2 separate regions of the Homo sapiens genome follow, and region 1 is linked to region 2. Evidence: promoter capture Hi-C in 16 types of primary human blood cells and fetal thymus (Javierre and others, 2016). All regions are on one chromosome and are shown on one strand. Each heading gives the region's core, a stretch centred on a gene start or on the middle of the fragment in contact. The rest is flanking DNA. Distances are from core to core; before and after follow the strand shown. Region 1 overlaps LINC01617 (long intergenic non-protein coding RNA 1617). Region 2 holds the start of STAU2 (staufen double-stranded RNA binding protein 2).

Evidence for each region. Contacts are between HindIII fragments. The CHiCAGO score rates a contact against its expected background, and 5 or more counts as called.
Region 1: a fragment that was not itself captured here is called in contact with the fragment with the promoter of STAU2 in region 2 in 11 of 17 cell types (neutrophils, naive CD8 T cells, non-activated CD4 T cells and 8 more); the score reaches 11.8 in neutrophils.

Annotation. Positions count from the first base shown.
Region 1 is chr8:73,881,669-73,884,368 of GRCh38, reverse strand. It overlaps LINC01617 (long intergenic non-protein coding RNA 1617), which reads right to left. Exons shown (of 3, transcript NR_147034.1): 2 at 2,207-2,342; 3 at 1,295-2,039. Among named protein-coding and RNA genes, the nearest start is that of LINC01617, 4.0 kb to the right of the region's middle. The HindIII fragment of the contact is 855 bases long and covers 934-1,788 here.
Region 2 is chr8:73,745,419-73,748,118 of GRCh38, reverse strand. STAU2 (staufen double-stranded RNA binding protein 2) reads left to right here and starts at 1,279. Exons shown (of 15, transcript NM_001164380.2): 1 at 1,279-1,336. RefSeq lists silencers at 777-1,066, 1,147-1,236, 1,527-1,706, 1,817-1,876. The HindIII fragment of the contact is 14,890 bases long and covers 1-2,700 here.

The DNA of each region.
Region 1 (2,700 bases), core at 112-2,611, 140 kb before region 2:
CCTAGTTTCAAGCCATTCTCCTGTCTCAGCCTCCCGAGTAGCTGGGATTACAAGTGCTCTCACCATGCCTGGCTAATTTTTTGTAATTTTAGTAGAGATGGAGTTTCAGTGTGTTGCCCAGGCTGGTCTCGAACTCCTGACCTCAAGTGATCTGCCTGCCTCGGCCTCCCAAAGTGCTGGAATTACAGGTGTTAGCCACCATGCCTGGCCTAAAATCCAGCTTCCACACAAAGGAAAAGTGGTCTTATCTTTTTTCTTTTTTTTCTTTTTTTTGAGACAGAGTCTCCCTCTGTCACCCAGGCTGGAGTGCAGTGGCGTGATCTTGGCTCACTGTAACCTCTGCCTCCCGGCTTCAAGCTATCCTCCTGCCTTAGCCACCCTAGTAGCTGGGATTACAGGTGCATGCCACCATGTCTGGCTACTTTTGGTATTTTTAGTAGAGGCAGGGTTTCACCATGTTGGCCAGGCTGGTCTCGACCTCCTGACCTCAGGTGATCTGCACCCCCTCCCCCGCCCCCAGCCTCCCAAAGTGCTGGGATTACAGGTGTGAGCCACCAAGCCCAGCCTTATCTTGAGGTTTATACACCTATGCTGCTGATCTGATGGATAAACTTTTTTTTTTTTTTTTTTGGGTCAGGGGACAGGGCCTCACTCTTACCTAGGCTGGAGTACAGTAGCATGATCACAGTTCACTGCAGCCTTGATGCCCTTGGCTCAAGTGATCATCTCAGCTCAGCCTTCCAAGTAGTAGGCATATGCCACCATGCCCAACTAATTTTTTTTTAGAGATGGGGTCTTGCTATGTTGCCCAGGCTAGTCTCAAACTCCTGGGCATAAGCGATCCTCCTGCCTCAGCATCCCAGAATGCTGGAATTATAGGCATGAGCCACCATGCCTGACCCTGATGGATGAACTTCTAAGGGTCAGGAAGCTTCCTGAAATACAAATTTTCATGGGTATATGTATTTTTCTGTGGAGTGGGTCCATGGCTTTCATTTGATTTTTAATGAGATCCATGGCAAAAATAAATAAATAAAAAGGAACCACAGTCTTTTCAAGTAACGGCTTGCTATGAACATGTTTGGTAAGAGGTTTAGGTGAGAAATAAACAGGGAATATCAAGGGCTGCAGACATGGGTAAAAGAACTCTTGCTAGAGAAGGGCAAAGATGGGGAATAAAGTAAAAGTTTTCCTGATTCACAGTTTTCTTTGCAAACTATATGTGTATATAAATCAACTATTTTTGACACGTAGAATAAGTCACACTCAAAATAAGTCACACTTACAAACCATTGTTATTTTGTTCATCTTCTTCATCCTTTATTAGAAGACTTAAATGAAATGACTGGGATTTAAAATTACTTTTAAAAACACACTTTTGCTTTATAGATATGCATTTGTTATCACTCTGAATTATGAATATAGAATTTTTGCTACTTTATGAAATCCCATCTATATTTCGACTGGATTGCATCAGCATTTTAAAATTGTTAATCAAAGCCCCCTCTACTTCCCAGTATTTCTACATAAATTGCAATAAAACCAAGTTCATTCCTTAATATATTTACAAAAGTGATTTTTAAACTCAAAATGGTATGTAATTCCCATTTCATTTTATCTTAGACTTTTTAACATGGTATTTTAGACAAATCATGCACAATTTTGATTCTCTTTAATAGATGCATGGAATTTGAAATTTGGAAGAAACCATAAAGATTATGCAGTCTGACTTGCGCATTTTATTGATAAGGAAAGAAACCCAGAAAGATTAGAAGCCTTACCTAAGCTTGTTAATCACAGAGCTAAGATAAGAATACAAGCCTTGGATTCTTACTTTGGTACCTTTTCCAAAATCCAGTAACAAACTGTTGGTGACTGAACTGTCTCCATTTCTCTGCTGAGATCAGCCCCTAGGAGACTAAGAACAAACTACTGGGTGGAGGCATAGACTCAAGCAAGGACTCATCAATTCTGCCTTTTCATGCTTCAACAAACAAATGTTCACAGGACTGCTTCTGACTTCCCAGTTTAATAAATCACTAGAACAAAAGCATTCATAAATCACATTACATTATCCATTATAGCACTTACCCAGTAGTCCCTTTGTGGGTCCTTTAATGTTACTATTTAGTTTCCCATATTTCCTTTTCTTTACTAGCAGAAAGTCCAGATGCTAATTTAGACCTGTCTCAGGCTCTCTCTTTACCTTGGAAGGGAAGATCTCAGGCACATACACAGCTTGGGTATGTCCAGATTTTTTTTTTCTTCCAGGGAAGTGGAGATGCAGGTAGTTTGTGAGATGAGGGAGAATCTCCTCGTAAGCTGATGGACATTTCTAATAGCTGTGGAAATGAAAAAGTGAACATCATTATCAAATCTAACAAAAATAATAATTCCTTAATATCCTCTAATATCTACTCTATATTTAATTTTCTCCAGGTGTCTCAAAAATATCTCTTTTACAGTTTGTTTGAATCTAGATCCAAACAATGTTAACATATGCATTTGTTCAATGTACTCTTACGTGGCCAAGCATGGCCTGTAATCCCTGTAATGCCAGCACTTTGGAAGGCCAAGGCAGGTGGATCACTTGAGGCCAGGAGTTCGAGACCAGCCTGGGCAACATGATGAAACCCCGTCTCTACTAAAAATACAAAAAATTAGCCAGGTGTGGTGGCACATGCCTGTAGTCCCAGCTAC
Region 2 (2,700 bases), core at 30-2,529:
ATGCACAGGATAAGTAACATGCCCGTGGTCTCCTCACCAGTTAGCAAGCGGATATCCAGCCTTGGTTATCTGACTCTGGCGCCCTTGCGGTTAACCAGGACACACACTACCTTCCCAGGTGCAGACATGAGATTGGTTTTAGATGATGACTGAAATCACCGGCCTGGGAGACATTTCTCAGTCAGAGAAGTGACACTGGGAAGAAACCCTAGAAATAACGTTGCAAACGAGTAAGTTTGTGAAAACACACTAATAGTTCTATTTCGAAATTTCTTTGTCAGATTATTTTTGGTGCCGGTTACTAAACGAAGTGTTCAGTTTCATTGAGCTTAACTGGGTTGAAGTTATCTAGACAAAAGTAATCCACATCAAAACCAGGACGAATTAAGACGTAATTTCTGTTTTCTGGCACTCTTGCCTCATAAATCTAGGATTCAGGGCATTGTTTTCAATGGTTCTCATTTTTGGCTCCAAGGATTCTTTTTCATGTGACTAATATTTTCGGTAGAAGAGGAGGTCTGGCCACGCCGCGGGTCTTGGCGAGCAGGTGATCACGGATCCCTGGTGTTTGCTGGGCGAGACGGTGAAGCAACCTCCTCCCCGCCCCCTCCCCCGTCTAGAAAGGTGCAAGATCCGCTAAACCGTGCGTTGCACAGCGGCGGCCGGAGCAGACGCGGGATGGTCGCGCGTCCCCTGCACAGCACAGAGGGGCAGCCGGAGAGCCTGGGAAAGGTACGAGCGGGGAATCAGAGCACAGGGTGCGGACCAGAAAGAGCAGACGGTCAGTCGGGCGGGGAAGGAAGTTGCCGAGTTGCAGGTGTGGAAGGGGCTGCCCCAGGCCCACCCTTGGCAGACGAGGGGGCGGGGAGTCGCGCCGGGGACGAGGAGACTGCGGACCGGGCGCGCTCCTTGCGCAGTCGCTCGCCCGCGTGCCCAAGCCCCCCGGGAATGGCCCTCGCCCAGGGGCCCAGCTCGCCGCCGCTAGCCCCGCAGAGCCTGCAGCTGCTGGGGCCCGGCAGCCGCCAGGGGGCGGGAGCTGCGTCGCGAACAATGGCCGCGCTTGGTCGCGGGCCGGCGGGAGGCGGAGTGGAGGTAGAGCCGGTGCCGGGCGCGCGCGCCGGCCGGGCGTGCTGGGGCGCGGGAGCGGCTGCGCAGGCGGGGGCGCGCGGCGCGAGCGCGGGAGGGCGCGGCGGGAGCGCCGGGGAGGCGGGCGGAGGCGGGCGGAGGCGGGGGGCGGGGAGCCCGAGGGGTGGAAGCCGGCGGCGGCCGAGCGGGGTCAGTTCTCTGTAGTGTTTGCCAATGTTGGAGCCGTCTGCAAAGTGTCCCCGGCAAGAAGGTAAATACCCTCATCGGGGGCGTCCGGGAGACCCCGACTTCCGCGCCGCCGGCGAAGAAGGCAGAGGGCGCTGGGGAGCCCTGCAGTTCCGCAGCACGGGGAACCCGGAGAAAAGCAGCCCCCTTCGCGGCCTCCCCTCCCCCGCGCCTTCCCTCCCACATCGGGCTCTCGGGGCAGCAGCGGGGAGGGGAGACCGGCGGGGGAGGGAGGACAGGGAGGCGAAGGAATTGGGGTGGGGGGTGCGTGTGTGGTGGAGGGGGTGGGACGACACAGGTGTCCTGAGGGGAGGAGCCGGGAGGAAGGCGAGGAGGCCGGGCCAAGTGGGGGTGCGGAGGTCGGGGAGACAGGAACGCGGCTGCGGGCGCGGGAGGCTGGGGTTCTAGGGGGCCGGGGTGGTAGCGGCCGGAAGAGAGGACGGCGAGTGCAGCCACGGTGTGGCTGCGAGGGAGAGGGAGCGCCTAGAGTAGGGCAGGGGAGGGCGGCCCGGGGAGGGTCTGCGGGAAATGGGCCTGGGGGCGCTGGAGGCGGAGCGGCGGGGCCGGGGCGCGCCGGAGGGTGGCGGCGGCAGCTATTTCTGTAGAATGGGCTAGTGGTAAAGACGTAACTTGCCGAAATGGGGAGGGTAGGTGGGGCCGAGGGGACAAAATATATCCTATGACAGGCAAGTTCTGCTGTGGCTGTTACGAACTCCTACCGTGATGGCTCGGCTTAAAGGGGTAGTTGGCGGTAGTGACCTTGCCGGGGTGAAGGGAGTTGGGCGAGGAGACAAAGCTCAGTTACGGAATCCGCTGTGTGAGAGCAGGAACTCTAGTCTCTTCGGGGTCGAGCCGGGGGCTGTGGCTTGGGGGCTGGGGGTGCTCCGCAGAGGCCATTGAGAAGCACGCCACTCTGGGATTCTTAGGGAGGCGGTGGGGGTAATGGCCGTGGGATTCTGGAAGTCTTTGGAAATGTGTGTAGAATTTTGCATTTGTGAATAATTTTCTTTGGTAAGGGTCCATATTTGCTGTGATGTCCCCTTACCCCCATCCCCACTCCAAAGGGTTAAGAACTGCTTGAGCAGATAGAGAGGGACCATTCAATTAGGGTAGACCTGGGAATTTACCAAAGGATTTTAAAGTGGGTGGATCCTGCAGAAAGAAAGGCTAGAGATGATCCTTTAAAGATATTTTACTGTTAATTGAAAACGTTTTTTATTTAATGTTTGCTTTCACAATTTTGGTGAACTTTTGCTGAGCATTACTTGGCTTCTGATGCATCCTGTGTTTCAGACCAGCATCGTGAATACTTGAAATCAAAATTGTGATGGACAGGCAGGGTGATAGTAACCTTGGAGGAGAAAAGATTTCAACATTTCTCCAGGATAT